Regions from separate parts of the Homo sapiens genome. Here region 2 is linked to region 1. The links are contacts of gene promoters, found by promoter capture Hi-C in human tissues and cell types (Jung and others, 2019). All regions are on one chromosome and are shown on one strand. Each heading gives the region's core, a stretch centred on a gene start or on the middle of the fragment in contact. The rest is flanking DNA. Distances are from core to core; before and after follow the strand shown.

The links. Contacts are between HindIII fragments. The study calls those that stand out against the background at their distance.
Region 2: a contact is called between a fragment that was not itself captured here and the fragment with the promoter of MAP7 in region 1, in 1 of the 25 tissues and cell types used here (ovary).

The regions. Positions count from the first base shown.
Region 1 is chr6:136,549,153-136,555,214 of GRCh38, reverse strand. It overlaps MAP7 (microtubule associated protein 7), which reads left to right and starts at 4,793. Exons shown (of 18, transcript NM_003980.6): 1 at 4,793-4,873. The coding sequence starts at 4,807. It overlaps MAP7-AS1 (MAP7 antisense RNA 1), which reads left to right and starts at 2,710. Exons shown (of 1, transcript NR_186370.1): 1 at 2,710-4,492. RefSeq lists silencers at 4,492-4,841, 4,882-5,061, 5,072-5,121 and enhancers at 4,343-4,880, 5,419-5,957. The HindIII fragment of the contact is 8,644 bases long and covers 892-6,062 here.
Region 2 is chr6:135,523,614-135,529,215 of GRCh38, reverse strand. The region is part of intron 2 of AHI1-DT (AHI1 divergent transcript); the gene reads right to left. Among named protein-coding and RNA genes, the nearest start is that of AHI1-DT, 29 kb to the right of the region's middle. The HindIII fragment of the contact is 5,270 bases long and covers 577-5,602 here.

The DNA of each region.
Region 1 (6,062 bases), core at 3,544-6,043:
TAGGATCAATCTAGGCCAGTGATTCTCAACTCAGCTTCGCATTAAAATGACTTGGATGCTTTTTCAAAAATATTGATGCCACCACCTTGGGACAACTGAGTTGTTGTTGTTATTTGTTTTTTCTTGGGACAGAGTCTCTGTCACCCAGGCTAGAATGCAGTGGCACTGTCATAGCTCACTGCATTCTTGACCTCCTGGGCTCAAGTAGTCCTCCCACCTCAGCATCCCAAGTAGCTGGGACTACAGGCATGCACCACCATGTCTGGCTAATTTTTAAATTTTTTGTAGAGACAAGGTCTTACTATGTTCAGCTCACTCTGGTCTCGAACTTTTAGGCTCAAGTGATCATCCTGCCTCAACCTCCCAAAGTGTTGGGATTACAGGCATGAGCCACTGTGTCCAGCCGGAAAACTGTTTTTACTGGTCTGGGGTTGGGCCCAGATACCCTTTTTAAAAATTAGTTTCACAGGTGTTTTAACATGATCAAGCTTCACCTCCTTATTTCAGGTAACAGCTAGAGAGGGAAATGGAGAGCCCCTTTCTATAGAGGGAATAGCAAGATGGTTAACGTTCATCATTTGTTTAGCGTAGCAGGAGGCTACACACCCAGGCCTGAAGCAAAACTGTAACTTGACTTGTGACCTGGAACAACTGAATTAGTTTCTCCAAGTCTCAGCTTCCTCATCTGTGAAATGGAGGAAATGATGTACCTTCCACATAGGTCTGCTATAAGATGTAAATAAGAAAATGGAGGCTGGGCGCAGTGGCTTGTGCCTGTAATCCCAGCACTTTGGGAGGCCGAGGTGGGTGAATCACTTGAGGCCAGGAGTTCAAGATCAGCCTGGCCTACACAGCAAAACCCTGTCTCTACTAAAATTACAAAAACTAGCCAGGCGTGGTGGCGCACGCCTATAATCCCATCTACTCGGGCGGCTGAGGTACGAGAATTGCTTGAACCCAGGAGGTGAATGTTGCAGTGAGCCGAGATCACGCCATTGCAATCCAGCCTGGGCGACAGAGCAAGACTCTGTCTCAAAAAGGAAAAGACAATGCAGGAGAGGTGCTCAGCACAATGCTTAGCATACAGTAAACACTGAGATATGCTTGCTATTGCCATCACTTATCCTTCATTCAAAAGTATTTATTAAATACTGGGTACTACATATTGTGGTGCACCAACAAGATACAGTTCTTTCCCCTGAAGTTTCTTGTCAAGGAATCAAGACAAAGCAGAAACAACAGTGGTGCAGTCAGTGCTATAGTTACATTTACTGTCAGAAGGGGTCAAGGAAAGCTTTCCAGAGGAGTGAAGGTGCAGAGCTGAGCCTGGAAAGATGGTTTGAAACAGAACAGTTAATGCAGGGGTGGTGGCAGTGTTATAAAAGAAACAAAACAGGAATTTGCTGGGAGAAGTAGATCTAATGTTTCCTTTTAACTGCATTTTGATCTCTTTCTTCTGTCATTGGATACTTGGTTTCGTTCATCCCTAGGCCACCACATAAAAAAGCTTGGCATTGAGGAATTATTAACCCATTTGAATGCCCACTGTGTGTGAGGCACGGTAGCAACACAAAAGATATATACCATGCCTACCAAGTTCAGAATGCAGGCAGTGCACATGATGTCATCAAGAACATCTGCAACTCGTGAACAAATAAAATAACTGATAGTTCTAGACTTTATGGACACCCTGTAGAGAAGTAGAGGACAAAGACCCTACTACCAAAAATGTGCATCAGATTGAGAAGGCAAATTTGCAATAACTCATGCCTAGTCTATTTTAACAGCTGGACAAGTATCAAGCCCAGCAAGCCCTGGCCAGGTCCAAAGGACAGGCATGCTGGGAGCCAGGGCAGGAAGAACAGGCTTCATGGAGGAAGTAGACCTTAACCTGGGCCTCAAAGGGAAAGTATTATTAAATACGTCAGGATGAAGGACATCACTTCGGGCAGAGCAGCTTCAAGCACAAAGACTAGAAAGCAGGGATTTGGAAGGTGTTCTGGAGAATGAACAACTCCATGGGCTAGAAATATGAGTTACAGAGGTGAAAAGTGGAAATGGGTAGTAGAGAGCTCAGGGCCCAATTAGGGGGTGGTGGTGGTGATGGTGAGGAGGTGAAGTTAATATTTACTTATATAGGAACGGGGAATCTATTAAAGGTTTTTGAGCAAGGGAGAGGTATGTGTAAAGTGATTGTATATTGCAAGATTAATGTGGTTTGGAACATATTAAATTAACAGCAGGGTATCTTGATAGAATTGTGCAGGGACCATTCAGAATGTATTAGTGGAAGTCAGGAGTGAGGTTAAGGGTATATATTCTGGAGTTGGGAGTCACCAGGATCCGGGATGGAAGTAATAGTAAATGAGGGCTGTGAGAGACAGTAAAGATAAAAAGCCTGTGGTTTACAATTAGGGGATGGTAAAAATATTGGAGGATTAGAAGGGAGGAAGAATCTGAGTCAACAAAGACGAAAGGACTGCTACAGAGGAAGGAGAAAAACCAAGCCAATGGTAGACCAAGAGCAAGGTGATTAGAGGATCAAGTGCTGCAGAAACTCTAGGGGAATGATGGATTTAAAAATAAGTAATTTGATTTGTATACATAAGCAAGAAAAACTATTAATATATAGCTTTTTTTGAAAAATAACGGCACCAAAATCCACATTTATTTTTATTACCTTTGGTGAACAAAACATACGACAATAGATTCTGGAGGGTGGGACGTTAAAGGAAGACATTTTAAGAATCAAAGAGTCTTAGCTGTGTTTATTGGGGTAGAGCCCTTGGGTGCAGAAACATTTAGGGATTCGGGAGAAAAAAGGGATGATGTTTGAAGGAGGCAGGAGGGAAGTGGACGGTGTCAGGAGGTTCAGCTCCTCCCCTGGAATGGGGAACCCTGAAGATTTGAAATGGATGTGGGAGCTCCAGACAGATGGCTTCCATGTTCCAAGTAAAGTACAACTTGAAGTACGACGTGATGGTGTTTGACATTTAACAGATGTCATCTGTTCTCTGCAGAGTCACTCAGCAGCCTCCCCTGTTGCAGACACCTCCTTAGGTTTGGAACACACTGTCTATACAGGGCCTAAGTGCAGGATTTTGGTGTGTTCCTTATTTCATTTATTTTTGTTTAACTTGTGGCAGATAAATACAGGTTATCAAAAGAATGGGACAATGAGTAAGCACACACCAAACTAAACAAAACAAAACAAATAGAAACATCACAAGTCTTGAATTTTTTTTTTTTTTTTTTTTTTTTTTTTTTTTTTTTTGGTCAAAGAAAGAACTCATTGGTTGATTTAAGTCGGTGGTAAATCAGAAAGTTGAAAATAAATCACCCTCCTTCTCCAGGGTTCTTCCGGATAGTTCAACTCTAAATTCAGCTGAGAGTATTTCTGATGCTCAAAGAAAAGTGTCTTAAACTCTGATGTTTTAATGTAGTTAAAAAAAACACAAAAAATCTTTGCTGAGGCCCAAGCTGAGGTCAAAAACTACCTCTAGCCATCTGGTGCTTTATTTTTATTGATTAGAAGTCTCTGATAAGACTGATTTGAATGTGATTTAGGAATATCACATTCTAAATGGTCAGTTTGCCTATTCCATTATAGAAATGACACTACGGGAAAATTCATCATCACAGACCACAGCAGAAGTGTTCTTTAGTTAAAGCTCTACCTAGTCATCCAGAAAGCCAGTAAGTAAACCAAATAAAAATAGTTCACTGGGCTCAGAGTGGCAAGTTTTGCATGCAAAGATCGTGAAAATTGTAACCCTAACAATAAATCCAATACTGTTCTCGACTCTCTTGTGTGTCCAGTGCTGCTGCAGTCCTTGGAAGGCTTTTAAACTGTTCAGAGCTTGCTGGTTATCTTCAGCCAAGCCAGAGAGTGGGAGTGCAGTGCATTTTAGTGTAACCATGCGGAACTGGTCGCTCCTTGATTTTGTGCCGTATGTTTCCATTTGTGTAGGCTTTTTCCCCCCTCAGTATTTTGTTGCTTATCCTTTAGAGCGAAATTGGTTTTTCCTCGGCCAATAATCTGTTTCTTTAAAAAAAGAAAAATTCGTTACCTATTGCCTTTTTTTCTGGTCTTCCTGAGCAAGCCAGAAGTCACAAGGTCGTTTACTAAACGGAAACTAAGAAAAAGAAAAGCCACATCAGCCGGCACAAGCCTCTCTAACTTGTGTGCCCTGAGGCTCATCAGATGCGAAGTCCTGGCGACAAGATAGGGTCGCCCGCAGTGGCTTCCTAAAGCGCAGATCCAGGCCGGCTCCCAGCGTGGAATCCGACCCATGTACTTCGCCTCTCCACGTGGCATCAGATGCTCTGCCGGCTGTCACCGTGAACTCCAGCCCTCGCGGAGCCGACACTGACCTGGCTACTTCAGAGTTCGGAGGGAAATAGCGTCTCCGTACCCTCGCCCCACCTGGGCTGCTCCTCGGACCGCCGCTCGTCCCAGACTCCAGGAGGCGCCACCAGGCCTCGCTGACCCCGCTCCATATCTCCGGGAGCCCTCAGCTGGTCGGCCGCGGCGACCGGAAGCTCCGGACTGAGGTACTGGTTCCGCCCGCCGCTCTTCCAGCCGAGACTCGGCAGCGGCGGTCGGAGCGGCTGCCACGCCGCACCTGCCCGCGAGGGGGCGCGCCAGGCCCAGGCCGCAGCCGACTGCCGCGCTCTCTGTCCCCGCCCTCCGCCATCCCCGGACTGCGCTCACCTGTCTGGGCCGCTGGCCTGGGAGGCGGGGGCCGGCGGGAGCCAAGCCGAGGAAAGGGCGGAGCGGCTCTCCGGGCGCGTCATCGGAGCACCATGGCGGAGCTAGGAGCTGGCGGCGACGGCCACAGGGGCGGCGACGGCGCAGTGCGAAGCGAAACAGGTGACCGCACAGCGGGGATAGTGGGGGTCCCGTCGGGCAGGGGACGGCGAGCGGGGCCGGCGGGCTGGCACCGAAATCACCCGGCGCCGGCAGCCCCCTCCCCGCCCGCGCGGCCGCGGCCCGGAACAACCGGCCCTGCGCGCCGCGCACCCTGCTCCGAGAGCGCCTTCCCCCGCCCTTCGCCGCCGCGGCTCGGCCAGCCCGGCTCGGCCCCGGCCGGGGTTGCGGCCGCCCTCGGGCGCTCCACCGCGACTTTCCCGCAACAGGTGGAGGCGAGCCGGGGGAGGAAACGGAGAGACCCCGGCCGCTGCCCTCCCCGCCGCGGCCTCGGGTCTAATTCAGTTGAATGGGAAATCGTATCCCCCAGACCAAACCAGTGGCCAGAGAGTCGTCGGCCAGGTGCGACTGGCAGGACGAGCAGTTTCTGGGCACCTCCTCCCGCCTTCCCTGGTCGCCCCGGGTGCCGGGGGCTCCTCAGCGGGGTCGGTGTGGGGCAGGACCGCGGGGTGAGCGGCCCGCCCCCCAATCTGGTGCCCGCAGTGGCGACGACCGTCGTCCGAGGGGACCGAGCTCGGGAGGGCCGGGGCCCAGTGCAGCACGGTGGGGGTTTGCGAGTGCGGGCTTGACGGGATCAGACTTTCGTTGACTTGTCGGAGTTCTCAGAGTTTTTTGTTTTTAGTCTGTGCAGGAGCCCAAAGGAGGATTGTTGGCTCTGCAGCCCGGGATTTGGTGGTCAGGCCTCTGTGTTGAGGATACCCCTCCCCCACAACCTCCAGGGGCACACTTAGGGACAGGGGATCACGTCCCCAAGACCAGCAGCAAGGCTTCCCAAGACCAGCAGCAAGGCTTCCCAACCCCGCCCATCTCTCCATAGTATGAAGCCGATTTTTCTCCCTCGTGATTTTTTTTTCTCCAGAGGCTATCTTGCAAATCCGTCCCTCTCCACTGGTTCCCTCTTCTATTCTTGGCCAGTAAGCTGTTTCTATATCTTCCTACACTTGGGGATGGGGGCAGTGAGGCAGTTTCTTACTTTAAAAAGAAATTCAATTCTTAGACTCTCCAATTGCAAGCTGTTTTCCACTTCCATACGGTCACAATCGGAAGCATTTGTTTCCTAAATGTAAGAATCACTGTCTCCCCACCATCAAGTATGCTTATTTTAACGTGAAAGGTCCAGAGAGCTCTGAAA
Region 2 (5,602 bases), core at 1,962-4,461, 1.0 Mb after region 1:
GAATATGGGAATGAGCAGCCCTCTGAACTAACTTCTCATCAGCCTAACTATCAGGAAAGTAGGGCTTTTAATGAAAATGGAGAATTGTTAATAAAACTGAGAACTTTTACTAATCTGTGGAAATTTAACCATAAGTTTTAACCACGAGAGTTAAGCTCACTTATCTGCAGAAATATCTATCGTGTAATATTAGTTACACTTACTTGCTCCTGGCACTATTCAAAAACAAATGCTTTCCTCTACAAGGTAATTATCATTTGATCTATAAAATATGGACTTTAGCCATAAATATCTGGGTCAGAAAGTCTTCTAAAGCAAAATACTGTAGGAAATATGTTGGAATTATGTCAGAATTATCTAAAACTTGGATCATTTATTAGTTACTTGAGCAAGATTTCTTCCTGGAAAGTTATAGCCATATAGATTTTTATGTTCACAGATGTAACATTTGAAGTGTAAGATCAAAAGATTGGTATTTCTAAGTCAAACATGATCATACAGATATGTAAAATCACCAAAGAGATTTATCTGGTACATTCCACATTTCAGTCTGTTTTCTTACTAACACATATTTGAAAAATAAAACCCAAAAAGTCCTAGTTGTTCAAGCATGTGATTAAAATTCAACATTAAACACTTTCTGAAAGAAATCTGATAGTGACACTGTTGGCCTGGTAATCTTATCCTATATACACATGACATGAGAAAAATTACCCCTGTGTTTATCTTCATTATAGTGAGGACATTAGAAAATGTAAATGTATGTTGTAACTACTAAAACTCTGGAACAACACATGTAATCTGAAAAGTCAAAGCTGATTTATTCCAGGCACCATTTAACAGAAATGACACATCAAAAAGTAATACAATATTATGAGATTTTTATTGCAAATAAGGTTCAAATATATTTTCAAAGGGAAGAGTTAGAAAAGTGAACATCTTTAAATGTCTTCAAGATTAATGGTAAGACATTCTGAATTGGCCATGTTACAGAATAGTGGAGGAATTATATAACTTACTTACAGTCTGCACATACAGATGCTATGGGTTTTAGAGACAGTTTTCATGTTGGCTATTTATTTAGACAGTGTTATATTCCCACAATAATAATGTTTTATTTCATCATCCTGTTTGAACCAGGTTTAAGCATGCAGCTGCAGCATGTTGAATTTTTAAGAAGCAAAGTCAGTCCAGTTTCATGAGTTTGGGCTTTTTATTCCATATTTGAATTTATTTTTCCTGGAAAGGAAAAATAGTTATAGCAGCACCTGGTATAGTTCCATGAACATAGTGGAGGCTTAATAAATATTTATCACTGTTGAAGTTAGAAGAAACACTGATTTGCACGCTGCATGATGTTGAATTAGGACCATATTGCTGCAAAAAGCATAAACATTGGGTGCGGCATCTGAATCTTAGACAATTTTTGAAAATGACTATTTTGCAGGAGGCCTAATCTGCCACAGAAAAAAATAAAATGTTACTTATAACTATTATTGAGATGCATTAAAATCTAAAGAACTGTTTAGAAAATCAGACTCTACAGAATGCTGGAAAGTGTTACTTTTTTGTATTGCGATCTGATTGGCCTTGGCAGGAGAGCCAGAAGAGAACCCCAGCTGTAGATCTGTAGGAGAGAGAGAAGTAAGCCAAGACTGGTGGGGATAGGGGAGGTCTGAGGTATATGACTATAAGCTCCCCCAAGTCTCAGCATCTAACAGGACATACCAAACCTGAATCCAAACCAGATTAATGGTGACAGTCACCATCTCAAGCCAGGTGGGAGCATGGCACCAGGAACTGGTTATGTGGGAAATGTTATTATCCAACAGATGACAGTTTTATGTTCGGAATGGGAGAGGTTGTCTGGGTTGTAATAGGGCCTTAGCCAGTGGGCTGCAGAGGGGAGAAAATTGGGATAGGATCCAGATCCCCCAGAGAGAAGAGGTTGGCAAGACTAGTCAATTCGTAGGCCCAGACAATTTGGCTGGAGTTCAGGGCTAGAATCCGTTACCAGCAAAGAATAAAGTGCAAACAAAGAACAGAGGCAAGAATCTAGAAACACAGTGAGGTTAGGGTTGGGATTGAGGGGCTTACTATTTATTGGTGGCCACATAAATGTTTACATAGGGCTCCCTCAATAGCAGGCTTAGGGCGATGGATGAACTCCAGACTCTGATTGATAGAAATGGACCTCCTAACATCCCGTCAAGCCTAGGTCTCATTTGAGTAACAACTTGATGGTGCTGTGTTGTAGGTTGACATTATGTAGTATTGGCTGCTGGGCATGGCTATGCAAGAGTGGTCAGTTTGGGGCACTATTTTTTTATTCTGTAATAAGCTTAAATAAACCCAAAACTATATTAAAATTGACCATTTGTTTATATGCTAGATGTCAGCCCCACAAGGGGAATTTTTTCTTTTTTTTTTCATTGACATATAACATGTACCTAGCTGACATATAGTTAGTATTTAACAGGTGTTTGTTGAATTGAAAATGAATTAATCAAATATATTCTAAACATTACCAAAGGGTTTGCAAAATTTGGATGTGATCCCCTAATTACACTGTATTTTAGTTTCTTTAATCACAATGATACTGCAATTCCAGATCAACAAAAGACAGAAACTGATCAAAGCGTTTTCCATACCTTTATTCCACTAAAACAGAAGATAAATATTATTTTATTTATCAAGAAACCAAAAGTAGGGGGTTTTGACGATTGGTTAACTTTATGTGTCAAGTTGACTGAACCATGGCATACCCAGATAGTTGATCAAACATTATACTGGATGAGTTTAACGTTGAAATTGATAGACTGAGCAAAGCACACTGCCCTTTCTAATGTTGTGGGCCTCATCAAAACAATTGATAGCCTAAATAGAACAAAAAGGCTGACAGTCTCATAAATAAGAGGGAATTCCTCCTGCCTAAATGCCTTCAAGTTGGGACATTGGGTTTTTTTTTCCCGCCTTTGAACTTTAATCAGCTTTTCCTGGTTCTTGGGCCTGCTAGCCGTTAGACTACACCGTCAGTTCTCCTGAGTCTCCAGCTTGCCAACTGCAGATATTGGAATTTGTCAGCCTCTGTAACTGCATGAGCTAATTCCTTATTATATACTTATATATACATTCTATTGGTTCTGTTCCTCTGGAGAATCCTTACTAATACAGGGAGTTGCAGCCCTGGTTAATTCAGTAGCTCAACAGCATCAAGGACAAGATTCTTGCCATTTTCTTATTCTGCTGTCTTTAGCATCTTGGCTTGCTGACTTACACTGGTTCTCCTCATGGCCTAAGTGCCTGTAGTAGCTCTAGGCATCACTTCCTCCGCCACACACATAAAGAGTCAGAATAAAGTTACTGTTTCTTCAAATATGTTTCTGTTTAAGAGCAGCCTTTCTGAAGCAACTCCAGGCTGGCTTCCCCTTATCTTTCATTGACCAGAAAGATCACATGACTCTTGTTAAACCAGTCTCTGAAAAGCAGAATAGAATCACCATGATTGGCTAAGAGTAACTAAATTTATCCCCTTGAACAAGGGATCTGATTCACTTTCCCTGAGCCAATGGCCACTAGCAGGTGAACAAGTGAACATGTTTTAACAGCCTGAAAGAAGAGGGAAATGGGCTTGAAAGAAAATACCTTCTTGCTATTCCTACCCTGCATTTAGCCCTCCATTTGAATGAGGCAGGAATCTTGAATTTTCCTAATGGTCCTGAGCCCCAAAACTGACTTTCCCAATAAGTGATGAGGAGGTTTAGGAACTTAGAGTCCACAACCAGGATCTCTACTTGCAGTTTCAGAACTGAAACACTCACTACATGTCTTAGGCCATTCCTGCTACTGCAACAAAATACTTTACACTGGGTAATTTATAAATAACAGAAAATTATTGCTTACAGTTTTAGAGGCTGGAAGGTCCAAGATCAAGGTCCCAGGAGACTGTGTCTGGTGAGGGTCTGTCTCTGCTTCCAAGATTATACCTGGTTGCTGCATCCTAACATGGAGGACTGGATGAACTCTGTTTCCCCATATGGTGGAAGGGATGAAGGAGATGAAAGGGGAAGCAGATCTCTGAAGTCTCTTGTGTAAGGGCATTAATTCCATTCACAAACCTGGAGCCCCCATGACCTAATCACCTCCCAGAGTCCCCACCTCCTAATACCATCACCTTGGTGATTAGGTTTCAACATATGAATTTTGGAGGGACACGTACACTCAAACTATAGCACTCCCCCAGTACTCATCTGATTCCCTTCTTGGGAATTGACCACAGTTGAAGAAAGGGCCCTCATTCATCAAGTTGCAGTTGGGTAGGGTTGGGAGACTGGTCTGTGCAGGAGCATAAAGGCACAGCCCCCTTTGCCTCTCAAAGCTGGGGTCATCCCAGCCCCAGTCTTCCCCATAGGATTAGTTGAGGTGTTTATTATGGCAGCGTTGTTATTCATTCTCTCCCTCCACCCAATTCTGTATTTTTTTACTCCGCTCTATCCCCATCTGTTCACTCCCACCCCAAGGATGGATCCCAAGAGCCTTCCTAAATAAATCTCCATATTCAAACCTTCTCCTTAGAGCCTGTTTTCTTGGAAATCCAACCTGAACAGGGGCAGACCACAGAGGGGCCTGACCTGCAGTTTATGTGACTATCAGGTAACTGCTCCCCTAGATGGAGACCACGATCTGACCCCTTCTCCAGGGCAGAAATTGTGGCCTGTGGTGAAATATATTACAAATTCTACTTGCTTTAATTGGTGTATAAAAGTTCAAATTTAGGCCCAAATTTCTCCCTAATCTAGCTACAGATCTATAGAGATATATATATATATATATATATATATATATATATATATATCAAAAAAGGACATGTAACAGATTTCTAAATAAAAGCTTCAAGCAAATAATTTGCAAATGTTATTATTCTCCCTTTGTGCTAATCTTTTATAAAAAGGCATAGCCACCTTTGCATAAGTCACTTTAAAAACAATAAAAAAATACCGGGCGCGGTGGCTCACGCTTGTAATCCCAGCACTTTGGGAGTCCAAGGCGGGCGGATCATGAGGTCAGGAGATCGAGACCATCCTGGCTAACATGGTGAAACCCCATCTTTACTAAAAATACAAAAAATTAGCCGGGTGTGGTAGCAGGCGCCTGTAGTCCCAACTACTTGGGAGGCTGAGGCAGGAGAATGGCGTGAACCCGGGAGGCGGAGCTTGCAGTGAGCGGAGATCGTGCCACTGCACTCCAGCCTGGGCAACAGAGCGAGACTCTGTCTCAAAATAATAATAATAATAATAATAAAATAAAAAATAGATTAGATCCATCTGCTACCTCATGAAGGAAAAATTATTACTAGGCAATGTCTAGGATCTTAGGACTCACTTGGAGATTTTTCAGAGGATATCCCATAAATAACATCTATAATATGCAAGGCACAGTCTTGGAAATACAAAAATGAAAAAGGCATATTGCCTTAAGAAGTTTATACTCTAGTGGAGCAGACAGAGAAGTGAAAGGTGTAGCATGATAAATGCATGAGAGAGAAGGGTATTTTGAGGGGACCCAGCAAGTCACCTAATTCAGCCTAGGTAATAGAGAAGGT